6 separate regions of the Homo sapiens genome follow, and all the other regions are linked to region 4. Evidence: promoter capture Hi-C in human tissues and cell types (Jung and others, 2019). All regions are on one chromosome and are shown on one strand. Each heading gives the region's core, a stretch centred on a gene start or on the middle of the fragment in contact. The rest is flanking DNA. Distances are from core to core; before and after follow the strand shown.

The links. The method cuts DNA at HindIII sites, captures the fragments that hold promoters and counts their contacts. A contact is called where the count stands out against the background at its distance.
Region 1: a contact is called between a fragment that was not itself captured here and the fragment with the promoter of PPP6R3 in region 4, in 2 of the 25 tissues and cell types used here (dorsolateral prefrontal cortex and spleen).
Region 2: a fragment that was not itself captured here is called in contact with the fragment with the promoter of PPP6R3 in region 4 in 1 of the 25 tissues and cell types used here (dorsolateral prefrontal cortex).
Region 3: a fragment that was not itself captured here is called in contact with the fragment with the promoter of PPP6R3 in region 4 in 2 of the 25 tissues and cell types used here (bladder and spleen).
Region 5: a fragment that was not itself captured here is called in contact with the fragment with the promoter of PPP6R3 in region 4 in 1 of the 25 tissues and cell types used here (dorsolateral prefrontal cortex).
Region 6: a contact is called between a fragment that was not itself captured here and the fragment with the promoter of PPP6R3 in region 4, in 1 of the 25 tissues and cell types used here (aorta).

Annotation. Positions count from the first base shown.
Region 1 is chr11:68,159,317-68,163,891 of GRCh38, reverse strand. All of the region lies in intron 10 of KMT5B (lysine methyltransferase 5B), which reads left to right. Among named protein-coding and RNA genes, the nearest start is that of CHKA-DT, 40 kb to the right of the region's middle. The HindIII fragment of the contact is 4,466 bases long and covers 1,055-4,575 here.
Region 2 is chr11:68,194,294-68,198,530 of GRCh38, reverse strand. The region is part of intron 1 of KMT5B (lysine methyltransferase 5B); the gene reads left to right. Among named protein-coding and RNA genes, the nearest start is that of KMT5B, 17 kb to the left of the region's middle. The HindIII fragment of the contact is 6,067 bases long and covers 1-4,237 here.
Region 3 is chr11:68,770,117-68,774,516 of GRCh38, reverse strand. It overlaps CPT1A (carnitine palmitoyltransferase 1A), which reads left to right. Exons shown (of 19, transcript NM_001876.4): 14 at 1,088-1,252. Among named protein-coding and RNA genes, the nearest start is that of TESMIN, 21 kb to the right of the region's middle. The HindIII fragment of the contact is 3,959 bases long and covers 1-3,613 here.
Region 4 is chr11:68,458,024-68,462,208 of GRCh38, reverse strand. PPP6R3 (protein phosphatase 6 regulatory subunit 3) reads right to left here and starts at 1,457. Exons shown (of 24, transcript NM_001164161.2): 1 at 1,382-1,457. RefSeq lists silencers at 997-1,106, 1,157-1,206, 1,217-1,586, 1,897-2,046 and an enhancer at 1,727-1,786. The HindIII fragment of the contact is 5,146 bases long and covers 1-4,185 here.
Region 5 is chr11:68,178,354-68,182,928 of GRCh38, reverse strand. KMT5B (lysine methyltransferase 5B) reads left to right here. Exons shown (of 11, transcript NM_017635.5): 4 at 2,729-2,797. Among named protein-coding and RNA genes, the nearest start is that of KMT5B, 33 kb to the left of the region's middle. The HindIII fragment of the contact is 8,126 bases long and covers 1-4,575 here.
Region 6 is chr11:68,800,910-68,805,546 of GRCh38, reverse strand. It overlaps CPT1A (carnitine palmitoyltransferase 1A), which reads left to right. Exons shown (of 19, transcript NM_001876.4): 5 at 1,446-1,547. Among named protein-coding and RNA genes, the nearest start is that of CPT1A, 39 kb to the left of the region's middle. The HindIII fragment of the contact is 6,052 bases long and covers 1-4,637 here.

The DNA.
Region 1 (4,575 bases), core at 2,038-4,537, 300 kb after region 4:
CCTGTCCTAGATGCAGAGGCTGGGGCGCTGCTCCTCACTCCTGCCCTGTCACTCATGTCAAGAGTTGATCTGAACACTTTTCTGCTGAGCCTTCGGGCTGCTTCCAAATTCTAACACCCCGTTCCAGGTAGCCATTGGCAGTCTGTGCTAGTCATGTCAGATGAAAGCTGCTTGTGCCAAGTAAACTCCTTGAGACCGAGGTCTTTAAAGTCCTGTCAGAGGCCTTCTGGATCCTCCAGCTCTGGAGATGCTCAGCTGTGGCCCTTGTATTATCTTAGTTCACGCTGATTGTGCATTTCCAGTGCGGCCTGAGTGCTCAGGAAGGCTTTGGTGTCGGTCACAGCTCTTTTGTCTGACTGGAAGTCTTGTGCCACCCTGCCTTATGATTTTGAGGACACCCTGAAATGACCATAATAGCCATGCAGTGGGGCCTTTACCCGTAAGTTGAGGCCAACACCATAATTCTTCTGTATATGCCTTATAGGCAGCATAAGCGTGATTTTAATGCTCAGGAAGGCCTAACAAGTCCCATCTCTGCCATTCACCAGCTGGATGACCTTAGGCATGCTAGTTCGTGTAAGCTTGGTTTTCACATAGCTTTAATCGCTTTCCCTTCCAACGGCGTTCATTAGGATGAATGTGGCCATTTTGCACAGCACCTAGCATGTAGTAATTGCTGAGAAGAATGTGTACCCCCACCTAAAATTACAGTCCAGGTCCATGTATTTGAGATTTGTCCCAGCCCCTAGGGGAAGAGTCATACGAGGCATATAAGTGCCACAGCAAGCTCAAACACAGGTGCATCTGACCCCACTTAGGTCATAGTCCTTGGTTTCTTGATGGACTTTAAAATCATTGACTTTTAGTTTGTCATTGTGGCCACTGTCTTCCTCCTTTAGCCTTCACTGTCTGAAATTCTCAACCCCTGCCAGGACAGTGCAGCTTCTTTGGACAGTGAAGGACTCTTGTCACTCTACTGGGTCCTCATCTTTGTCACATTTCTCAAATTCTTTGCCTGTCTTTTTTTTCCTTTGATTTGATGAGCATACCTTTTGACAGGGCTTTTGATGAGATAATGCTTTTCAAACAAAATTAGAATACATTGGTAACATGTAAGTGAAATCTCTGTGTTGATGTAATACATAGCATCAAATACATACCCATTTTGTGCTCAAAAATGGAGCGTTTATGTTAGTTTAGAGACAAACACATAAAAGTGCTTTGGTTTTCTGTTGTCAACAGTGAATGTTTTGGAAGGAGGGATGGGATGGGGAGAGCCGAATTCAGAATCACCATAAAATGGGAGTCATCCAACGGGTGAAAATAAGAAGTACCAAGGAAGGAGCTTCTTGGGTGCTGTGAGAAGACATAGGAAAGGCATTGCAGAGAAAGTCCCGAGAGGCTCCCTCAGGGAGGTGTTGCCTAAGCTGAGTCTTACAGGGGGATGAGAAGTTGGCCAAGTGAAGCCTATTCAAAGCAGAGGGCCTTTCAGACAGCTCTATAGACAGAGGGGAGTTTGAGTCAAAGCTTTTCTTCATGGCGAGTACAGGCTAAGAAGAAGAGATGTGAGCACAGGTTAAAATTCTAGACTTCATTCTTAGGGCATTAGGTTGCTGAAAGGTTTAAAGCCCAGAAGCTGCATGATACACTAGGAAAGTCATCCTGGCTATGTGGTGGTAAACGGATTGTTGGGAAAACAATAGGAAAAACAAAACTGCCATAGTTCATGCAGGAGGCTGTGGCTTTCGAGACAGGGAAGAGTAGACAGGTTGCAGTGACATTGCAGGGGTGGACTCCACGGCACATGGTGATTGGCTTGGTGAGGCAGTTCAGGAGAGCAGGAGTCAAGGAGGACCTCCAGCTTTCTGCTTTGGCAGCTGGGCATGTGGTGGTGATATTGACCAAGATGGAGACCTCGAAAGGGGACGTCGTCAGGAGACTTGATGGTGAGTTCCATTTAGGGGCTTAGAGACAGTCAGTATTTGGTGACCTGGTTCTGTAAGTTAGGAGCGGGTCTGGCCAGAGTTCGGGAACTGTCAGCCTGTAAGTGGTAATAGCCGTGCGAGAATGGGTGCTTGTCACCTGGGGCCTAGGACTACACAGACCTGAAGAAGAACAGTCTAAGGGGCCGATGAAGGAGGGTGCCAGGGATGGAGAAGGGAACCAGGAGAGTGCGCTCTCTTTGACAGCCAAGAGAAGAAAGGTTTTCTCAAGAAAAAGTGGTTATCAGTGTCACATTCAGAGAAATGAAGAAAGGGAAGGGCTGAGGAGTGTGTGCTGGGTTTGACGACAAGAAGTTGTCAGATCACCAAAGGCTGTCTCATTGGAGGAGCAGGCTGGATCCAGATGGCGGGGATTGCTGTTGAGAATATGACATAGATGTGAGTGTTGTGTAAGGGTGCTTGCAGGTACGTCATGAGAGTGGAATGGAAAGAGGAGAAATCAAAGGTTGGAAACCACTAAGTTTGGTCATAAATTAGTCCTTGAGGAGGCATAGAATGAGCAAAGGATCATCGTAGCCACATCTGAGAGAGCCAAGCAAAGGGAAGCCAAGCAGTGCAGTCCTTTCTTCACTAGTGTCTTTATATTGGCAGCACGTCCATTCAGTCCACCTTGTAGGCAAGCATAAAGAAACCCTTTAGCCGAAGAGTTCCCTATTTTTTCTTATTTTCTAAATTTCTTATTAAAAAAAAATTTGCTATCACATAGTTCTGTATAGTTCCAGTGGATAATAAATCACTCGTTCTCAAATTGAATCACATTCAAAGTTCACTACTCCTACTATTCTAAAAAGAGGCGCCACCTTGGTAGCAGCCCACATGTGTAAGTATGTTCTTGTTTCAAACTGTGAATCCCTTTGCTGTGAATTCTGCTGGTTTATGTACCCTGAAGCCATTTATGAGCCAGTCTGTGCGTGCAGGACCTTCTTTGTTTTTGTTTTTCTGAGAGGAAGTTTCACTCTTGTCACCCAGGCTGGAGTACAATCGTGCGATTTTGGCTCACTGCAAACTCTGCCTCCCAGGTTCAAGTGATTCTCCTGCCTCAGCCTCCCCAGTAGCTGGGATTACAGGCACGTACCACCGTGCCCGACTAATTTTTGTATTTTTAGTAGAGACAGGGTTTCACCATATTGGCCAGGTTGGTCTCGAACTCCTGACCTCAGGTGCAGAGCCTTCTATTCTTGGTGGTTTGATATTTTTGGAATGTTGTGATGCATTCTTGCTCCTCTCTCAATAAAAACTGAACTTATGGTAACTTACTTGCTTAGCTGGGCGGAAGGAATGGCAGTTGCCCTGGCAACCTGAGGCATGTAGAAAGCGACAGATTTCTCTGCAGGATCCTGGTCCTCACTTGGTTGGGCAGTGTGCTGAGCTTACCCATGTTTTATTGTTTTTATCCTCCCTGTTCTGATGAGAGGTGGTGATGATTCGTTTTGTTATCGTGGCTTCTCTAGTGAATCTGTAAATGGAGTGTTTTGATTAGGAAGAAGTTTTTCAACTGGACCTGCAAGAACTAAGTAATTGAGAAACTGACTTGTGTAACAACTTCTATAAATAATAGTCTGGAATGTCAATACAGAGGAAAAATTAACATAGCAGAAAGTCAGTGGCAAGGTCAGAGACACTACAGGAGCAGCTTAAGCTTGAGTCACAAATGAAGCCTTTTGAGAAGCCATTCAACTTTATTCTTTATATTGACAGCACGTCTATTCGATCCACCTTGTAGGCAAGCCTCGTAAGCATAAAGAAATTCTGTAGCAAAAGAATTATCTAAATATCCTTATATTTTAAAAAATATTTTCTACCTAGTAGTTCTGTATAATTCCAGTGGATAAGAATACGCTCATTCTCAAATGGAATCATATTCATCACTACTCAGGTTGTCATTACCATTAGGGTCATTGTAACCCTTTTCTATCCTGGCCTTGGAGGAAAGAAGTTGGATCTCCCTTTGTCCTGAGAGTGTACAATTCTAGCAGCGTGCATCTTCCTTCACTGTGATTGTTGGCATCTGGCCGTCACTGAAGGGATGGGGCTGAGTAAGCTTTGCAGCTCTTCTAAGTTGACAGCCCACTGGTTGCCTCTTCTGTTCCTCACGGAGTTGAAGGGGACAACTTAGAATAGTGCATTTCTTTTTCGGTAGTGACTGTACTTTTCAGAGTGATAATATATGGTTCTTAGCATCTGTTTTTCTTGTTTGAAACCATTGCGATAGAATTTGTTCCTTAGAGCCCATGAGTATTCTATTTCTACTCTATGTTAATGGCCAAGTGCTGTACTTCCTTTAGGTTAATGAGCAATGGATTTTAGAAACATTTTAAATGACTAAGGAGAATCTGTGAAAGGAAAAAACCATGTTAACTTTCTTTGAAATCTTTTATGTGGGAAACTACTAAATCAGGAGAAGAAAGCGTTCGTTTGGGCCAGTGTCACGACAGATTAAGAAGCTTAGAGTGGAATCTAGGTCCCTGCTGTGAAAAGCTCCTTAACCGTGCAACTACTTACCTCAAAAATGAATAGATGCCCCATAAATTAGAAAAGAACTTCAAAGAGAAGCAGTGTAGGGAATGCAGGT
Region 2 (4,237 bases), core at 918-3,417, 260 kb after region 4:
GCTATGAAGCATTTAGGCTTTGCTAGCCGCCCTGTCTTGTCTTGTCTTGTCTTGTCTTGTCTTGTCTTGTCTTGTCTTGTCTTGTCTTGTCTTTTTTCCTTTCCTTTCCTTCATCTTCTTTCCTCTTCTTTTCTCTTCTTTTCTTTTCACAGTCTTGCTGTGTCGCCCAGGCTGGATGGAGTGCAGTGGCACAATCTTGGCTCAGTGCAACCTCTGCCTCCTGGGTTGAAGCTATTCTCCTGCCTCAGCCTCCCAAGTAGCTGGGATTACAGGCATGTGACACCACGCCTGGCTAATTTTTGTATTTTTAGCAGGGATGGGGTTTCACCTTGTTGTCCAGGCTGGTCTCGAACTCCTGACCTCAGGTGATCTGCCCGCCTTGGCCTCCCAAAGTGCTGGGATGTTTTCAACCCCTATTTGTCTATACTCTACTACAGTATCGACTTGTGTTAGCTTTTTAAAATCCCATCGCTACCTTTAATGTGTAAACGTGTGGTCTTAGAGGAAAGATCATGCCAGCAAGAACAGATTCCACACTTAGGAGGGCAGAACAAATGATGACCTGATCATTAGTACAATATATATTCATTTTGAGCTGAAAATTTTTTTAAATAGCCCCCAAATTATTGATAGCTTCATTAGAATTGTTTTTACAAATGTTTCATTTATCAGTTTAAGAAAGATCTTTTGATAGCTTTTATCATATGGACCTGTGGAGAATCTCTCTCTGCTAGGCTACATCCAGACATGTGCAGTGCATTCATACTAGTGAAATTTAGCCATGTTCTGTGATTGACAGAAGTACCTGTTAGATTAAATTACCTTGAGTTCAAATAATATCAGTTGATCACAATATAAATGAGATCTGAGGGCACAGATTTTTTCCAGTTTGGATCATTAACCCACATTTAATTTAAATTATGTGCACATTAGAGTGGATCTCAGTCTGTGTTCCATGAATTGAACCAAAGTTTGCTATTACTAAAGTGATTTGTTGGTGAATTTTCCTAATTCTCAGAAAAATGTTTGGTTGATATTATAATTTCCTTAATTTTTTATTCCATAATTTTTCTTAAAATTTTGTATCTATTCTTTGCCCTAACATGATAAAATGAATAAGTAAATTAGAGCGATTGCTCTTACACTGGAGCTTGCATCACCTGGAGGTCTTACTACAACACAGATTGCTGGGCCTCATCCCCAAATTTTCTGCTTTCTCTCAAGTAGACATCTTGGTTGGGACTTAAAGACTTTCCATGGCCGGGCGTGGTGGCTCACGCCTGTAATTCCAGCACTTTGGGAGGCCGAGACAGGCAGATCATGAGGTCAGGAGATCGAGACTATCCTGGCCAACATGGTGAAACCCCGTGTCTACTAAAATAGCAAAAAAAAATTAGCCAGGTGTGGTGGTGCGCACCTGTAGTCCTAGCTACTCGGGAGGCTGAGTCAGGAGAATCGCTTGAACCCAGGAAGCAGAGGTTGTAGTGAGCCGAGTTTGGGCCACTGCACTCTAACTTGGGGACAGTGCGAGACTCCGTCTCAAAAAAAGAAAAAAAAAAAGACTCTCCATGGATAACCTTTCTATTCCATATATTTTATTTCTATTTCATATAATTATGCTTTATGTCTTATTTTTGAGGTATATTAGGACTCCTGAGAAGCCTAAAAGTACATTGTTCCATGATTATCCATAAGTTGTGTGTTAAACACAGGCATTCTACAGATGATTTCCTAAAGGACCAAAAGCACTTTTCCTGGTCCTGGTTCTTTTTCTCTGGAGGGTCAAGGACTAGGGAGTAAACCAGAAAGTATAATGGCAAGCAGTAGGGAAGTTAGTGGTGGTAGCAGCTGTGATTCCTGCCTTGTTTCTGTCTGTGCAGGAGCTTCTCTCACCCCCTTACACACCATGGACATTTTGAGAAAGGAGAGGATTTGAAGAGGTCAGGAAGTATCTTTAATTTACAGTTTTTTTTAATGCAGAAATATAGTTTCTATGATGCAGTTTAGAATACAACCTATTTATTTCATCAGTTGAGTGCCTCTAGGATGTACTGTGTGCTATACTAGATACACAAGGGCCAGAGATAAGAAAAATAGATTCTCAACCTTAGGAACTCTCAATTAAGGAAGCAGACACTTAAACAATATAGTCACATAAGGGCTTTCACTTAAGTTTTATAGCATAAGTATATAACTAGATTTGGCAGTGAATGTCAAGGAACACTTCCTAGAGGATGTGAACACTGAACTGGGACTTAAGGAATTAGGCAAAGAGATGGTGTTATAACATTCCAGGCAGACAGAGGAGAAAGGCATGGTGCATTGCCCTTCCCCACACCCCCAGGAAAAAAATGCATTTTATTTTATTTTATTTTAGACAGGGTCTTGCTCTGTCACTCAGGCTGGAGTCCAGTGGTGCAGTCTTGGCTCACTTCACCCTCCATCTCCTGGGCTCAAGTGATCCTCCTGCTTCAGCCTCCTGAGTAGCTGGGATTACAGGCGCATACCACCACACCTAGCTAATTTTTGTATTTTTGGTAGAGACGGGGTTTCACCATGTTGGCGAGGCTGGTCTCAAACTCCTGGATTCAAGTGATCTGCCCACCTGGGCCTCCCAAAGTGTTGGGATTACAGGCATGAGCCACCACACCTGGCCAAAAATTCATTTTATTTAATGACCAAGTATACACACATTTACACATATATAACTAAAACAAAACTTACTATGTGGGATGCATTGTGAAATATTCTGCTCTGTGTTCTTTCATTTAAAAAAAATTACTGGTCACAACATAGTAAAAAAAATGTTGCAAACCATTAATATGTTACAACCCATAATTGCCCTAGAGCACTATGAATGCTGAGCTATAATTTTAGGGAAAGTTACAGTCTTGCTCCTTAGAATTAGCCCATGGTAGTATTCTGTGTATTCAGAGGAAAATAACATAATCTTGTTACCATGTATGTGCCCTGGACATGGTAGGTGCTTTCTGTGTGCTTAAATCACCTACCTTCCCAGGCCCTGGAGATAAGAGTGTGACTTGCAACTATGTAACAGGACCCTGGATCTATCTGTGTTGTACCTTTTATAGAAACAACTTTTTTAGGTACATTATTTCATGTGATCCTCACAACAGCCCTGTGAGGTGGATGGGGAAAATATGATCAGCTTCACTTTCTGGATAATGGAAGTTAAGGTTCAGAGAGGTTAAGTGACTTTGTTGGTTACCAACTGCCTAGTAAGAGACAGAGGTGGGATAGGAGAGGGCTATTTTCTGTAAACCACATAGCTTCTGAGAGTATAATCTAACTTGAAATATAAAATACATTTATATAAATTTACCACTTCATCATTTTCTTTTTTTTCACTCTGTCACCCAGGCTGCAGTGTAATGGCATGGTCATGGCTCACTGTGTCCGCAATTTCCTGGGCTGCAGCCATCCTCCCACTTCAGCCTCCTGAGTGTAACTACAGGTGCATACCACCATCCTTGGCTAATTTTTTAATTTTTATTTTTAGTAGCAATGAGGTCTTGCCGTGTTGCCCAGGCTGGTCTCGAACTCCTGGCCTCAAGCAGTCCTCTTGCCTTGGTCTCCCAGAGGGCTAGGATTATAGGCATAAGCCACCACCTGGCCCATTTGCTTGTTGTTAATGCAGCTTTTTATAGGATACAACAAAAAACCTAATTCTAAATTTATCATGCCAAGTTTATGCATCTGTACCAATGAAAGCTTATAGCCACAGAACATCTGTTTTTCAGAAAGTGCTGTTTCTTTGGCTCTTGTCTTAAAGGAACATAAGTAATATGAAAGACCCTAGGGGTCAAGGAAATTGAAGAAAACTGAGGAAGGGATATAAAATGGAATGTAGTCACGGATTTTAGTCCCTTTAAGCTTTTACTTTTGTGAGATGGCTCAATGATGGAGAGCTTTAATGCAGATGAACCTTGAAGCTTTTAAAGATCTAAGTCTTGACGAGGTTATTGAAATTCAAATCTTCAATGCATTGTGATAGTAGGCTATAATTTTTGAACACTTGGCCGGGCACAATGGCTCATGCCTGTAATCGTAGCACTTTGGGAGGCCGAGGTGGGAGGATCGCTTGTGGCCAGGAGTTCAAGACTAGCCTGGCCAACATGGTGAAACTCTGTCTCTACTAAAAAATACAAAAATTAGGCGGGCATGGTGGTGCACACCTGTAATTCCAGCTACTTAGGAGGCTGAGGCATGAGAATAG
Region 3 (4,400 bases), core at 385-2,884, 310 kb before region 4:
GAGCAGCGATGGTGCCACTGCACTCCAGCCTGGGCAACAGAGGGACACCCTATCTCAAATAAATAAAAATTAATAATAAAAAGTAAAAAAATGTGTTTCTTGATTGCCACTGTGTGATGACGTCATCATAAGATGACGTGTGACTATTTGAAACACCCTTTGGGGTCTCACTGGAAGCCAGGGTGCCCCCGTCCCCTACCCATGTTCCTGTTAGCGTCAGAACATATCTGTACGGGTCTGCAGCAACCTCAATTCTTGCCTTCTCAGAACGAATTTGACTGTGGGGCAGAAGGCAGGAGAGACCAAGTTTAAAAGCGGGAAAGTTTATTTTAAAAACTTTAGGAACGAAAGGAAGGAAAGTACATTTGGAAGAGGGCCAAGCGGCCAACTTGGGAGATTAAGTGCGAGGTTTGACCTCTTGACTTGAGGTTTTATACATTGGCATGCGTCCAGGGTCTTGTGTTACTTCTCCCAATTCCTCCCTTGTTGTGGGCTGTCCGCATGCACAGTGGCTCCAGCGCTTGGGAAGGGAGCATGCGCAGTATGTTTACTGGAGTTGTGCGCATGCTCACTTGAGGTGTTCTGCCCTTGCCTGTCTAGCACTGCTGGAGGAAGCTCATAGTCCAGTTAGACGCCGCCATTTTGCCTCTCAGTGCGCATGCTTCAGCCCACTCGCCCAACGCTTGAGATCTTATCGGGAAGCTGCTGGTCACCAGCTCCATTTCTATCTACTGAGAGACTGCCTTTCCCTGGCACCGGCTGTGACCTATTATTATTTTAGAGAGACAGTTCACAACCACCTGACCATCACTGATGGTCGCGTGATATTCCCAGTGTGTGTCGGAGGAAGCCCTCTCCTGGCCTGCTCATGTCAGACCCGCTACCTGCTATAACATTGCAGCTGCTCCTCCGGGGTCAGGGAGCCATGCCCCTAACTTACTAGGGCTTCTGGGTCAGGAAAACGTTTGTGTACTTCCCAGTACCGAGTTTATAGCTGCACTAAAAACCAGCCTCCAATTTCCTTCTGGGTGTGCGTCAGTACTTTTCTCCCCTCGTTCCGTAAAACCTTTTTCTTCTTTCTCTCAAGTGTCAAGAGGTTATAGAGACCTCCCTGAACACCGCAAATCTTCTGGCAAACGACGTGGATTTCCATTCCTTCCCATTCGTAGCCTTTGGTAAAGGAATCATCAAGAAATGTCGCACGAGCCCAGACGCCTTTGTGCAGCTGGCCCTCCAGCTGGCGCACTACAAGGTAAGAACTGACCGCCTAGGGTTTTGTCGTGAGCACTTTGGGGGTTCCTACACCTGCCCAAGACTGTTCACCCAGTGGGGAGGGAAGGCCCGAAACCCGGCATAGGAGAAGCACAGCTCCCCCCGACCCCGGTCTCCGGGGGCCGGGTGGCGTTGGGTGTTTCACCACGCACGCGGGCAAAGTTCGCAAATCCCCCTCCAGCAGGCGTAGATTCCCAGCTGACACGGGAGAGGGAGAGTCTGGGGGATGAGGACAAAGTGAGATCTCATCACTCTACAGAGGGAGAGTTAAGCCCCATAATAAGCCCCGAATCCTAGCATTTGCTAAAGTGGAAATAGTGTGGGCAGGTAGGGGAATAGTCAGTTACGTATTCGTCTGGCGCTCGGTAAATCTGCACTTCACACAGGTCAGGTGAACATGGTCCACGTTTCATCTGTCGCTCTCTGCTTGGGAACAAAATAAAAAGCTTCTTGCATGACTTAGCTTTCAGCTTAATCCTTTCCTTTTGGCAGAGTAAATCTTCCTTTCACCATACTAAATTAAATTTTGGTATTTTCATACAGTGGAATATTATATAGCTATTAAGTGATGTCTTTGGGCAAATTACTTAACGTCTCTGGCCTTTGACATCTCCTTCCATAAAAGGAGAAACTCCAGCCACTTGGAGGTGCCATGGGCTGGATCCCCTGTATACACATGGCATTTCCATCTCCCTTTTCTGAGCACTGGCCATATTTTGGCTTGCACCTGGCAACCCCTGTTGGAGGAGCAGCCTGCACCCCTAGCAGGGACATAAATGGGTCTTCTTGTCCATTGGAGGGAGCATTCCATCCCAGACAGGGGGCCCTTGGTTTCTGGGGGCAGCACAAGTCATCGTGGCATTGGCTTGAGATATTCCCAACTTTTTTTTTGAGACAGAATCTCACTCTTGTTACCCAGGCTGGAGTGTAATGGCATGATCTCGGCTCACTGCAACCTCCACCTCCCGGGTTCAAGCAGTTCTCCTGCCTCAGCCTCCCGAGTAGCTGGGATTACAGGTGTGCGCCCCCATGCCCAGCTAATTTTTTGTATTTTTAGTAGAGATGGGGTTTCACCATGTTGAGCAGGCTGGTCTCGAGCTCCTGGCTTCAGGTGATCCACCCGCCTTGGCCTCCCAAAGTGCTGGGATTATAGGCGTGAGCCACCGTGCCCAGCCTTGTATTAAAACTTGAGTGCTGTACACATATGCAGCGTGTGGCACTGCCCCCCCAACCTTGGTAACGATTGTGCCATTGTTGAATTTTGCTTGGTGCATCATGTACCTCATGCTTCACTGTCTCTGCACCTGGGAGGCACTCTTGTTATCCCATTTTTAAAAATTTACAAGTCCCCATTATGCCTCAGAAAATCTTGTTTTCCCATTTTACAGGTGAGGAAACAGGTGCAGAGAGGCCAGGTGCTTGCCAGGGTGGCACTAGGCAGGGATAAAGCGGGCCAGCGGCTCCAGAGTCTATGCTCTCTCCACCTAAAGTTAAGAAAACAGTTACAGAGAAGTAAGAGGCAGTGTTAATATCAGATGAACTGGAATGAATGGGCCAAAATCGTATTTAAAATGCATGCTAATACAGTCTGTAAAGACTGTCACAGTTATGAAGCCTTGCTTTCCCAAGTAACATGCTCACTATGCGTAAACCAGAAGCAGCTGGGCAGAGTACCAGGAGCACAGTGACAAGCTCCTGTCTGTGACAGATCATTGACTAAAGATCATGTGATTAAAAGGTGACATGGAATAGAGGCATCGCATCTCAGAATCAGTGAGCTGGATTTTGAGAATTGATGAGCAGATTTTGCCCGTAAACGTGCAGTATGAGGGCATGCAAGCAGTTGATACCTTACCTACAGAAAGGATGTTATTTTATCTTTTTAAATTTTTTTCTTTTTTAAAAGAATTCCCTGCAAGTAAGCGCAGGACTTAGGAGTTTAGTAAGGAAATGCCACGCTCCAGTTTAGTACATTTTGAAACATGCTGAAATGACTATTCTGCAAGCAGTACAAATTGGTGACGTTGACTCAAGGTAGAAAACCTGAAAAGGCCTCTGGTCCAGGGACCAAAGTGAGAGGTTGTCAGGGAGCCACCCTTGTGACTCCAAAGAGCTTGCAGCTCAGAGACTCCACAAAGGAAGCCACCCCATCTGCTCCCCAGAACCCACGTGGCCCAGGTGTGGGAATGAGCTGCAAGGGGCACCAGCCACTGTGCCATGTACTTGGCAGGAGCGAGCGAAACTTCAGGACGGCCCCGAGGAAGGCATCTCTTCATCTCTGCCCTCCACACTCGGAGGTGAAGCATCTTGCCTGAGGGCTCCAGCTCGTACGCAGCAGGACTGAGATCGGAAGCAGGCAGGCTTGTTCGAGAACCTGTGGCTCTCATCACTGTGCTGCAGCTAAACGCAGAAAAAGGAAGCACAGACCAGCTTCCCGCATGAATGGAAGTGCAGAGACCCTCCATAAAATCTTAGCAACTAGAATCCAGCACTGTAGGAAAAGAATAGTCACCCACAGTGGCGTACACCAGCGGTGAGAGGCTGGTTTTGTGTCAGTAAATCCAGTCATACACTAAACCATACTGTTGGGTCAGAGAAGAGCCTAGATAGTGAGTTTCACAGATCCTAAGAAGACGTTTCACGTTTAACATCCATTCCTGATAAGAGCTCTTGGTCAAGGGGCTTAGTAATAGGGCTCTTTCCTTAACAGGATAAGTGGCATCGTGTATTAATAGCTAGCTACTGCTTCAAAGTAAAAGTGTGGGAGGCAGTCCCCTTAAAACAAGAAAGATGAGGATGCCTCTAGCAGATGACAGGGTAATTGGGCAGGAAGAACATTTATGTCTGTTCAGGAGATGGAACAGCAGAAAGGCTTTGACGATTAAGAGGCACACCCAGTGAGCCGGCCCAGCGCAGAGTTGCACAAAGACCACCAGCTTTCTTGCACAAGGATGATGGCCAAGTGGGAAATATAATAAGAGAATGTAATAGAAACGAGAATCTGGGGCCCCACCTTCCAGGCATACGTGTATAAAGCAGACTGGACTCTGGGAAGAAGGCCGAGGAGCACTCGCCCCCCAACTCCTCCCCAGGGAGAGGGAGAAAAAGCCATGATTTTGGATGAAAAA
Region 4 (4,185 bases), core at 208-2,707:
AAAATCAAATTTAAATTAAACAATAATAGCCATTAACTAGCCTAACCACTAATCAGCCACTGAGGTGACTGTATGTGCCAGGCACAGCTCTAGCTGTTTTACATGTATTAGGGCAATTATCCTGACAAACTTATGGCTGGGACACTTATTATTATTCCCATACTACAGAGAAAAAAAAAGAGAAGCTGGGTAACTTGCCCAAGGTCACAGAGCTAAAAAGTGGTCACTGACTCCACTCCACAGTGAGGAAAACCCAACCACCACCATAACTGGGTCTCATACACTTGCTACTTGAGGCACAGTTCGGTGGTTGGAAACCTGGAGTCCCTGTCCCCCTTGAAGCCTATCTGCAACATGACCTTGAGGACAAAATCAAAGTAAACGTCCCACGAATAAAGGACACCACCCCGTCAACAAGTGCTGCGAGGATGAAAGGGAACGCCTGTCAAGCACCCCCTCCCATAAAAGCAAAACAGACCCAAAGCCCCACAGAGAAAACGTGAAGTACCAGGAAAATGACATTAAGTCACGCGGTTGAAACGTCAGGGCACGGAGGTACATCCAAAGACCCATCCCGTTCACCTATAATTAAAAAGTCTAAATTGTGATCACAGCCAGCAGGACCTCAACAGGAAACACCTCCAAGTAAACAGTGAATGGGCTTCTTTAAGAGGGAGGGACTTCAAGCCACAAGAAGGACCACCCACCCCCCCCACCCCCGGCTCAAATACACCAGGGAGGCATTCGAGACAGTTTACATACAAGCCACCTCACAGGAGTTAAAAAGCCACTGGGAAGGGTACTGGGAGCCTCGGAACTGGCTGGTGTGGATCCCGATGACTCTGCGGCGAATTAACAGAAACCCACAAAACTTGTTTCCCGAAGAGCAGAGTCCAACAATGGTCTTCGCGACTCTTGACGGCGAGTTGCTGCCTCAACTTGACGCGCTCCCCGAGGCCCCCGGGAGGCCCAGCGGGAGCGGAGACCGGGCGCGGGCCGGGCGGGGGGCGAGACTGCGGGCCGCGGCCGGCGGGCGGGAAGGCTGGAGCCAGAGCCGGGTCAGGGGCGCGCCTCGCCCGCCCGCCGCGCCAGGCCGCGAACGTCAACGAGGCACAAAGTCGCCGCCCCGACCGCGTCCCGCTCCCGGCGCCCGTCCTGGCGGGGCCCCCGGCTAACAGGAGCGGACGGGGAGCGGCCGGGAAGGACTCGGCGCCGCGCCTCCCGGGCCCGCGGAGCGACGAATTCCGGGGGGGGAGGGGAGAGGGGCCGGGACGTTCCCTCCCTGAGCCGCTGAGGCCAGGTGGAGGGGCCCCGCGCCTGCCCGCGCGCCTCGCACACCCCGCGCCGCGGCCTGCTCCGGCGCCTCCCCTACCCCCATTACCTGGAGGTGCCCACGACCCGCCGCTAGTTGCGCTCAGGCGGGAAACGCGCTCACCGACACCATCAGCGAAGCGCCCAAAATGGCGGACGTATCAAGCAGGCCTTGAGTTCCCCCCCGCCCGCCCTCTGGCCGCCTCTCAGCCAATCGCGGCCCTGCCCCCGCCCCCAGCTCCAGGCTCATTGGCCCCTCTCTCCCGCCCCCTACTACCTATTGGATCGCCTAGCGGCTCCTTTGACTACATTCCGATTGGCCCGCAAGCCTCGTCAGTCAAGCGCGAGGGGCGCATTCTTTTCCCATGGACTTGACGGATCCGGAACCTCTAGGACCCCGGAGCCTGAGAAACAAATCAGAAACGGGGAGAAACCTGGCTGGGACCCCCTACGCCGTAGCAACAGCAGGTCCTCCGCTTGACGGACGCTTCGGACCACCAATCCGAGTGGCCAATGCTTTTTAAAACTAAATTGAGCCAAGCCCATCATGGCCGTGGAGCCGGAGCCGTGAGGGATCCAATAGGGTGGCGAGCTGGCCGGGCGGGGCGGGGGCGGCGGGGGACACCGGTGGTGACGTGAGCCACAATATGCGCCGGCTGCAAAGGTTAGGCCGGGCTAGGGAATCAGCTTAAGTGGAGGAGCGTTCGTTTAGTATGTGAGAGGTAACGGGATCGATGCCTGCATTCTCCACAGGGGAATTTTTATCAGAATGATTTCCCATTGCGATCTCTTTACCTGAAAGAGGTGGCTGTCCTCGTAGCGGGGTCAAGGTGAGGGATCGCGGAATATCCCTACCTGTGACGCACCGCCAAGAGATAAGTGCCCTTGTCCTGGGAGAAGGACTTAGACGAGAACTTTTGGGGTTTGGTTTTGTTTGAGACGGAGTTTCCCTGTTGTCCCCCAGGCTGGAGTGCAGTGGTGCGACCTCAGCTCATTGCAACCTCCGCCTCCCAGGTTCAAGCAGTTCTGTCTCAGCCTCCCGTGTAGCTGGGATTACAAGTGCACGCCACCATGCCCGGCTAATTTTTGTATTTTTAGAAGAGACGGGTGTTTCACCATGTTGGCCAGGCTGGTCTCGAACTCCTGACCTCAGGTGATCCGCCCACCTCAGCCTCCCAAAGTGCAGGGGTTATAGGGGTGAGCCACCGCGCCTGGCCTGGGGTCTTTTTTGAGACAAGGTCTTGCTCTGTTGTCCAGGCTGGAGTGCAGTGGGGTGATCATGACTCACTGCAGCCTCCACCTCCTGGGCTCAAGCAGTCCCCCCACCTCAGCCTCCCGAGTAGCTGGGACCATAGGCACGCACCACTGGGCCCCGCTAATTTAATTTTTTTGTAGAGACAGGGTTTCCCTGTGCACACGAGCTTCTAAATGCTCCCCCGGGCTTCCCGTTCCCCGCCATATCTGTGCCTCCCAGGTAGGACCGAGGTCCCGGACATCAGGACCCCCGCCCCAAGAGCCAGCCCAGGACACCGAGACAGCCCACGGTTAGACCCCATGCTAATAACCTGCCTTATTCCAAAATGGATTTGAGGCGCCTCTCAGAGTCCCATGAAAATCCACAGGAGGTCACGGCGCGGTCACGCCTGTAATCCCAGCACTTTGGGAGGCGGAGGCGGGTGGATCACGAGGTCAGGAGATCGAGACCATCCTGGCTAACACGGTGAAACCCCGTCTCTACTAAAAATACAAAAAGAAAAAAAAAATAGCCGGGCGCAGTGGCGGGCGCCTGTAGTCCCAGCTACTCAGGAGGCTGAGGCAGGAGAATGGCGTGAACCCGGAAGGCGGAGCTTGCAGTGAGCCGAGATTGCACCACTGAACTCTAGACTCGACGACAGAGCGAAACTCTGTCTCAAAAAATAAATAAATAAATAAAAACAAAAAAGACTGGTCTCATAAGATTATGATATTGTAGTTGTACTGGACTTTTTTTTTTTTTTTTTTTGAGATGGAGTCTTGCTCTGTCGCCCAGGCTGGAGTACAATGGGGCGATCTCAGCTCACTGCAACCTCTGCCTCCTGGGTTCAAGCAATTCTCCCTGCCTCAGCCTCCCCAGTAGCTGTAATTACAGGTGCATGCCACCATGTCCCACTAATTTTTGTATTTTTAGTAGAGATGGGGGTTTCACCATGTTGACCAGGCTGGTCTTGAACTCCTGACCTCAGGTGATCCACCCACCTTAGCCTCCCAAAGTGCTGGGATTACAGGCGTAAGCCACCGCGCCCAGCTGTACTGGATCTTTTCTATGTTTAGATACACAAATATTTACCATTGTGTTACAGCTGCTTTCAGTATTCAGCACAGTAACATGCTGTATGGATGTGTAGTCTAGGAGCGATAGGCTATCCCATATAGCCCAGGTGTGTAGTAGGCTAGACCATCTGGGTTTGTGCTAAGTATACCTGTGATGTTTGCAAAGGACAAAATTGCCTAACGATGCATTTCTCAGAACACGTCTCTGTTGTTAACTGTACTAAGCCATTTTATATATGGGACTTGAGAATCCTTGGGGGTCCCAGAAGCAATCTCCCACGGATACAGAGGGACAACTGTATCTACCAGCCCGTGTACGCGCCACGAAAAGTACTGTGCTTCTGGGGAGGCTGCAGACAGGGCAGACCTTTCTCACATTGATCCTGCTACTCAGAGAGGCATGGAGGAACATAGTCAAGCCGGAAGCCAGCCTGGGAGGTGTGCTCTGTGTGGGGGTTAGGGAGGGGATTCACAGGCTGATCACCTGGGCAGGGCGGGAGCGGCCATGCCAGGGAAAGAGGCCGAGGCAGCAAGGTGGAAGGAGCACACCCCGTGGAAGGCAGG
Region 5 (4,575 bases), core at 1,741-4,240, 280 kb after region 4:
CCCGTCTCTACTAAAAATACAAAATTTAGCCAGGCGTGGTGGCACATGCCTGTACTCCCAGCTACTCAGGAGGCCGAGGCAGGAGAATCGCTTGAACCTGGGAGGCAGAGGTTGTGGTGAGCCGAGATTGCGCCACTGCACTCCAGCCTGGGCAACAAGAGCGAAACTCAGTCTCAAAAAAAAAAAAAAAAAATTACAATGAAAGTTTTAGTGGCTTATGACAGAACTTCATGTACTCTAAAATCCCCGTGCCGTATTCCAGAAGGCTGCCTGTTACTGGCATCTTCAATAGTAAATACTCCAGTTTTCTGCTGCAGTGGCTCATGCCTGTAATCCCAGCACTTTGGGAGGGCAAGGTGGGAGGATCACTGGAGCCCAGGAGCTCGAGGCTGCAATGAGCTGTATTCATACCACTGCACTCCAGCCTGGGCCACAGAGTGAAACCCTATATTAAAAAACAAAAGGAAGCACTCCAGTTTTCTGTAAAAGTCCTCCTATACCATTGCTTCTTATAATTAGTTTACATGAGAGTCACCTGGGAGTTTGTTGAAATGCAGGCTCTGATTCAGTAGCTTTGGGGTGGGGCCTGAGATTGTGCCTTTCTAACAAGCTCCCAGACTACACTTGGAATAGCTAGGTCCTAAAACATCTGGCCTCTCAGTTTCATTGTGACGTGCTAAGTGGATAAAAATACCTTACTAGGAGTTTCCTAGGGCTCACGTAAAACTATGTAGTCATAAATGTAAACTTCAGGATTACCACACAAATATTTTTGGAACTCAAGACATTAACTGAGGACTCCTAAGTTAAAATGCACCCAGTGCCTAAGATTTTTCCCCATAGAATTGAAGCATCTAAAATTAAAGCTGGTTAAACTTGCAGAAGAAATCATTTTTTAAGTATTTTTTAGTCCAACATTTAATTATACAGTTCCTAAAATAACCTGTGGAAGTACAGACGATTCTGTTGCCCTGGTTAGAGCAGCCTGGGTTCCTAGCAATGCCAGCACTTCAGGCCGGTGTGGGAGTGCAGGGGACGGCCTGCCTACTTCCCACCAGAGTGTTCCGTTTACGTGTGCTTTTACACTCTTGTGTACACTGATATTTGGGAACAGAAACTTTATTAATGACCTTTACAATAATCTTGGTGAAAGGTATATGTTTTCAATTAACCTTAGTGAATTTACTTGAAAATAAAACTATCCCTTCTAGCTCTTCATCTTTTGAGCAAGAATTTACCAGAATGTGACTTTAGAAAATAAGGAAAACTGATAATGCTTAATTAAGGTAGTAAATAGCCAATAAATACTTCTTAAATTGTTAGTTTATGGACTTCTCTCTCTTTGGGGTGCAAAAGAAGTGACCAGAAGATGTACTGCTCTTGGATTTTAATTTTCTAAGCTCTCTGCCTGTTCCTTGTATAGTGCGCTCTTTGTTCATATGTTTATGCACCTGTAATTTGTCACTTTTTAGTTTCTCTTTTTTATACTCTTTTCCCTTCCTTTTACTTCTTTCAGTCTACCAACAGGAAGAATGTTTAGAAACAGTAGATGTTTAGCCCGGGCGTGATGGCTCACGCCTGTAATTCCAGCACTTTGGGAGGCCGAGGCGGGTGGATCACGAGGTCAGGTGTTCGACACCAGCCTGACCAACATGGTGAAACCCCGTCTCTACTAAAAATACAAAAATTAGCCAGGCATGGTGGTGCGTGCCCGTAATCCCAGCTACTCAAGAGTTTGAGGCAGGCGAATAACTTGAACCTGGGAGGCAGAGGTTGCAGTGAGCCTAGATCACACCACTGCACTCCAGCCTGGGCAACAGAGTGAGACTCTATCTCCAAAAAAAAAAAAAAAAGAAAAAAGAAAGAGTAGATGTTTAATGATTGGAGAATTTTCAAAACTGGCTATGTTTTGAGTGCACAGGTTTTAATCTTAATATATCCTTACATTTACTAACAAGCAAGAGTTGTAGCATGAATACTTAGAAATAGTACGAACAAAATGCTAATTTCAATTTATTGGGAGAAATTTGAACTTAATTGACTTTTGTCAATTATGAAACCTAAAGTTTTCTTTTTAACAAGAAAAAAAGAGTTGTTGTTTATACCTCTGGTTTTTAAATGGAGTGGGAGCGGGATATTTTAAGAAAGGGATCGATGCTTTCAGTAATGCCCCCTTTTTGAGGCTGCATGACCCTGAGATGTCACAGTATCCTGAGGCGCGAAGGCGACTCAGGCCAGCAGTGAGCTGAGCAGGAGACAGCATTTAAACATCAGGGGAGTCACTTCAGGGCACTGAGTTTCTCTTTTCAACTTTTCTTGGTTTTCTAATCAGAATGTCAGCCTGTACAGTCCTTACTCATTTTTCTACTGTTATAACCATCTAATTTTTATTTCACTTTTATATGTATTTGATTATTCATATCCACTATTGGATATGAATATGAATCACTTTAAATATCATTTTAAAATTAAGTGCTTGACTAGAATCCGTAAAGAATGTTTTCAAAGCTTCTAACTTCATGGTAAGGTGTGTTCTATGGGAAGCAGAGAATTTCAGCAGCATGGCTTCTATCCTGCCGCGCCCACCTGTGGTATCTTAAAGTTCTTGATTATCACAGAGTTTTAAAGATTTTTGCAACAACGAATATTGTAAGTCTGTTTAGAAATTACAAGTACAGATTATACAAATAGCTTTTTATTTTTGTTGTTTGTTTTTGCATTTATATAGCGCCTTTCCTTCGAGGAGCTCAAGGCATTTTTCAAAATCTGACAGTTTTTCTCACAACAACCCTGTGAGGTAGGTAGTGTGTGTTAAAAACAATGAGATACTGACTAACCCATTCTAGCCTTTTAAAATGTTCTTTTATGTTAAGTAATTTGAAGTGTCAGCATAAATTAGAGTTTTAGAACATTTTACAAACCTTTTAAAGTAGTTTGATAATAGTTGTATTTTTTAAAAAACCACTTGTACTTCATAACAGGGTGATTTTAAGAGAAACAAATCATTCTTCAAAAGATCAGGAGTCACTCCATGTGATTAGCTGAGCACTGATTGCAGGACTCAGCCAGGTATGTTTTTGGTTCTCGTTTATTTTCAGGTCAAGAAGGACTGAAGAGCTGATCTGCGACTCCTCACTCAGCGTCTACAAACTGTGGATTTGCAGCTAAACTTTCTTCAGAGGGGGAAATGTGTTCACTATGTTGCCTCATGGTTTTATTTTATATCTTAAATATTTGAGCATTTTTCTCTCTTCCTCTCTCCTTCCCTGTCTCCCTTTTTTCTGTTCCCCTTCCTGTTCCCCACCCCTCCAGTCAGCTCTTGATTGTGCATGCTAATGAAGGGCACAGTAGCACAGCTAATACAGTCTACAACTTTTCTTCACTGCCACAGTGGGGAGACAGAAAAACCAAATAGCAAGAAAACCTGGGAAGTGAGTCTCTGGAAAGAGTGGGGAACAGGTGTGTGGGAGTGTGAATTCATATGTTTTTTTCCTGCCCCTTTAATAATAATCAATTGTAAATGACATTTTTATTTTTCTTATACCAGCCATTGATTGGAAGTGTAAAAAGAGAAAAAATAGATATGTTTGGTTGATTTAAAGTAGCAAATTTTCTATTAAGGGAGGGAGGACGGGGCATATTGGTTTGGAAATGCCAAATAACTGTTTTTCTTGCCTCCCTTGTCACCCACCCCCCCACCCAAATACGAAATTTTAAAATTCACATTTGCGTCCATCCCTTCCACTGTATTGTCAGTATACAAGCTAGAGCTGTCTCTGGCTGGGCCCAGTGCTGATGTTCAATGGCAAACGCAAGTCAAATCCTCTTCTAACCATGAAACAATGTGAGGAAGGCTCTCCTGAGCCAGGTGATATAACAGGAACCAGAAAGGCCAGGGTAAATCCCAGGTCTTCCATTCATTAACCCTAAGTCATTGGCAATCTACTCAGCCTTGTTGGGCCTTATTTTCCTCATTTGTGGAACAAAAGGGCTGTTCTAAATTATCTGGCCTTTAAGTGTCAGAGTAAAAGGATAGTTTTATGCAGTTTGTATGGGAGATTTAGAGTGATTATAGTTAAGGAGAGAGGGTATTTTTCTGTTCAATAATAGGAAAAAAAAAAATTTCCCTAAGGTTTTCAGTGCATTTGCACCAGCCCTAATAGGTATAACAGTCTTAACTTTTATTTTCCACAGTATTTGTTACAATGGGATTTGATTTGGACTATCAGCCAGCTGACTTTTACATACTTCTGTAGGATTATTGAAAACAACTGTCTCATCTCCTGCCTGTCTGCACCCTTAACCATTTTCTTCCCCCTTTTCCTTACTGTCATTTCATGCCCATAGCAGCCAACTGTGACAGTAAGTTTTAACAGGTTTGGGACAGCAACTTATATTTTTAGTGAAATAGAGGTTCTTGCTATTGGTAGCAAGGGATAGTTTCAGGGGTTTTATTTATGTTTGAGGCAATAAAGTCAGGAAAGCAGAAACAGAAGTCAACACAGGGAAGGTAGGCAGAATACTACTAAATCAAGAGTTGACTATTTTGTGTTGGTTTTAGCATGTAAATTGTTT
Region 6 (4,637 bases), core at 738-3,237, 340 kb before region 4:
GGGGGAGCCTGCTTGTGAGAGAAGCATGGGAGTCACTGCAGTGCCCACCACACACCGGGACTCCACTCTTTGCCAAACAAATTTTTTTTTTTTTTTGAGACAGCATCTTGCTCTGTCACCCAGGCTGGAGTGCAGTGGTGCAATCTCGGCTCATTACAACCTCCGCCTCCCGGGCTCAAGCGATTCTCTCACCTCAGCCTCCACAGTAGCTGGGACCACAGGCACACACCACCACGCCCAGCTAATTTTTTGTATTTTTAATAGAGACAGGGTTTCGCCATGTTGGCCAGGTGGTCTCGAGCTCCTGGGCTCAAACGATCCACCCTCCTCGGCCTCCCAAAGTGCTGGGATCAACAGGCGTGAGCCACCACACCCAGCCAAACCAATTTTTTCTCTCAAATCAATTTTCTACCATTTGGATATAAAATTTCTGATTTCTAGAGAAGCAGAATTTAACACCTAGAAGAGACTCAGGGGTGGCTCCCACACTTGGCAAAGCAGGCTAAAGGGCACTCCCTCCAGTGGGTTCACAGCTGAGGTTCAGCTGAGTCCCAATGCCCTGCAGTACCAAGACTCCCCGCCTGGGCCCAAGGACTGCCTTTGTTTTGGTTGCCATTGAGGTGACTGGTTATTATACAGGCTTGATCATCCAGCCTAAAACCAAGGGCCACAGATGTGTCCTTTGGGAGACTTGGCAATGACTGAAGGAAAGAAACTGCTTCCCCTCGGCTTGGCTCAGGGCCAGGCACGTTGACCCTCCTCACTGTTCCTAGAGCCTGGAGCCCATCCCGAAACTAAGGGCCTTGCGGAAGGAGGTGGGGTGAGACTCACCCTAGGTGCAGAAGCACGGTCAGGGTCCTGGCCAGTCACGACGCTGGCAGCGACATCTCACGGCCTCTGTCAGGCTTGGCTTTGATTCTACCTGGTTTTTTGGTTTGTTTGTTTTTGTTTTGCTTTTTGACATAGGGTCTCACTATGTTGCCCAGGCTGGAGTGCAGTGGTATGATCATGGCTCACTGCAGCATCACCCTCCCAGGCTCAATCAATCCTTTCACCTCAGCCTCCCAAGTAGCTGAGACAACAGGCACATGCCACCATGCCTGGCTAATTTTTTGTAGAGGTGGGGTTTTGCCATGTTGCCCAGGCTTTTATTGGCATGGAGGGCAGGGTTATATGCTTATTTGCTAGAACCTGTAAGTATGGGGCGGGTAAAAGATGGACCAGATGAAAAATAAATCGACACAGAAAATCAGTAAGTGGTTGGCACATTGTGCGCACGGGAAAAGTGGCTTCGGATCTTTAACATAGCCTTGTCTTTGAAATGGTCATTCTCCCATCCAAGTACTAACCAGGACTGACCCTGCTTAGCTTCACGAGATCAGACGAGAACAGGTGCCTTCAGAGTAGTATGGCAGTAGTCTGAAAATATAATTCTCTCTCTTCAGGGTATGGTCAAGATCTTTTCAGGCCGAAAACCCATGTTGTACAGCTTCCAGACATCGCTGCCTCGCCTGCCGGTCCCGGCTGTCAAAGACACTGTGAACAGGGTAGGTGTGGCTTAGGCCTCACACTGAAATGCCAGCCATCTGTGGATTAAGGCTTAGGTCTTAATTATGATGAACTAGGTCACCGCCATTTGGCTCAAGTAGCCTTCAGCGGTGTGCCTGGTAGGGTTCTCATAGGAACTCTTTTTTTTTTTTTTCTCCAATGCATCACTGCTGCATCTTAGGTGTTTTTTAAAAAGTGTCAGGTTTCATAGAGAAACTGCTTGTGAATTTTTTAAAGCTTTATTTTATTTTATTTTATTTTATTTTATTTTATTTTATTTTATTTTTTGTGATGGACTCTCCCTCTGTCACCCAGGCTAGAATGCAGTGGTGCAATCTCAGCTCACTGCAACCTCCGCCTCCCAGGTTCAAGTGATTCTCCTGCCCCAGCCTCCCGAGTAGCTGGGATTACAGGCACCTGCCACCACGCCCGGCTAATTTTTGTATTTTTAGTAGAGACAGGGTTTCACCATGTTGGCCAGGCTGGTCTCGAACTCCTGACCTCAAGTGATCCACCCGCCTCAGCCTCCCAAAGTTCTGGGATTACAGGCATGAGCCACTGCACCAGGCCAGTTTTTGCTACTTTACATAATTACTAAATACAACATTGTATTAAATGATTGCAGTCATTCCCCATTCTTCCCTCCCCCCACCTAGTAACTTCTCTTCTACTTTCTGCCTCTGGATTTGCCAATCTGAGGGACCTCATATAAGTGGCATCATATCATATTTGTCCTTTTGTGACTGGCTTCTTTCACTCAGCAAAATGTCTTCAAAGTTCATACACATAGCAGCCTGTGTCAGAATTTCCCTCCTTCTTATGGCTGAATAGTATTCCATTGCATGGCTAGACCATATTTTATTTATCCGTTCATCTGTTGCTGGGTGGCGAATGTTTTTGATCTGATTGGTGAGGGTCACCAGCTGAGGGTGGGGTGATAGTCAGCTTCTAGCCGGTCTGAGGACAGGGTGCTTCTTGACACAGCAGCCGCACTTCAAAGCCAGGCCCCCAGGGGCAAGGCACTACCTAGAAAGCCTGTCATTTCATCCTCAAAGCTACTCATTTCTTTTTCATTTTCTTTTTTTTTTTTTTTTTTTTTTTTGAGACAGGGTCTCACCCTGTTGTTCAGGCTAGAGTGCAGTGGCGCGATCTTGGCTCACCACAGCCTCAACTTCCTGGGCTCAAATGATCCTCCCACTTCAGCCTCCTGAGTAGCTGGGACTACAGGTGCATGCCACTACATATGGCAATATTTTTTTTTTTTTGAGACAGAATCTCGCTCTGTCACCCAGGCTGGAGTGCAGTGGCGTGATCTTGGCTCACTGCAAGCTCCACCTCCTGGGTTCACACCATTCTCCTGCCTCAGCCTCCTGAGTAGCTAAGACTACAGGCCCCTGCCACCACGCCTGGCTAATATTTTTTTTTTGTATTTTTAGTGGAGACGGGGTTTCACTGTAGCCAGGATGGTCTCCATCGCCTGACCTCGTGATCTGCCTGCCTCGGCCTCCGAAAGTACTGGGATTACAGGTGTGAGCCACCACGCCTGGCCCTATTTTTTTTTTTTTTTTCCAGAGACGGAGTTTCACTGTCTTGTCCAGGCTCGTGTTGAACCCCTGAGCTCAAGTGATCTACCTGCTTCGGTCTTTTTTTTTCTTTAATTGAACAAAAGGAGAGGGAGCAGCTCCATTTCTTTGTTTTTAAAAAAATTATGGTAAAATGTACACAACATGAATTGTACTGTTAACCATTTTCAAGTGTACAGTTCAGGGGCACTAAGTACATTTATAATGTTGCGCAGCCCTCACTGCTGTCTCGTTCCAGGACATTTCATCCCCCAAAAGCTCATAGCCACTAAGCAGTCACTCCCCATCCTTCTACCTCCCTCTCCCAGCCCCTCAGAACCACTAATCTCCTGTCTGTCTGTATGGATTTGCCTCTTCTGGACATTTCGCATAAATGGAATCACGTGGCCTTTTGTGACTAGCATGTCTTTAGAGTTCACCCGTGTTGTAGGATGGATGAACTTCATCCCTTTTTGTGGCTGAATAGTGTTCCATTGTATGGAAGGACCACAGTTTATCCACCTGTTCATCCGCTGTTGGGGACGTATCCAGGAGTGGAATTGCTGGCTCATGGGAATTCCGTGGTAACTCATTGAGGAACCATGAGACTCTCACGCAGCTGCACCATTTTGCATTCTAACCAGCAGTGCATGGGTGCTTTAGTTTTTCCACATCCTGGGACTCCAATTTTAAAACTATAATAATAAGCAAAAACTTCTCGGGTTAAGGGTTTGAATCCAGGCTTGGTTACTGAGTCCCTGTTGGCCTTGGTAAGGTCTTCCCATCTCTGCTCTTTTTTTTTTTTTTCAGACAGAGTCTTGCTCTGTCACCCAGGCTAGGGTGCAGTGGCATGATCTCAGCTCACTGCAGCCTCTATCTCCCAAGTTCAAACAATTATCTTGCCTCAGCCTCCTGAGTAGCTGGGATTACAGATGTGCACCACCACACCCGGCTAATTTTTGTATTTTTAGTAGAGACAGGATTTTACTATGTTGGCCAGGCTGGTCTCGAGCTCCTGACCTCAAGTGATCTGCCCACCTTGGCCTCCCAAAGTACTGGGATTACAGGCACAAGCTACCATACCTGGCCCACCCCATCTCTCCTCTTCTGTGCCCACGCTTGCAAATCAGGGCTGATGACGGCCCCTGTTCCACTGGCAGGATGGGGTGAGCAAGAGATGCTTGACCTTCAGTGACCTCTGTCTGTGTTGCGTAGCTCGGGGTTCCACTTCAGCTCATTCAGGGCATGATTTTCTGTCTCATTCACGGGCATTTTACTTTGAATAAGCCTCAAGATGCTTGACACCTGCCCCCTCCCCCTTTTTTTTGGAGACAGAGTCTCACTCTCTTGCCCAGGCTGGAATGCAGTGGCACCGTCCTAGCTCACTGCAACCTTGAATTCCTGGGCCCGAGTGATCCTCCTGCCTTAGCCTCCCAAGTAGTTGGGGCCACAGGTGTGCACCACTATGCCTGCAAATACTTTCTTGTAGAGACAGGGTCTTGCCATGTTGCCCAGGCTGGTCTTGAA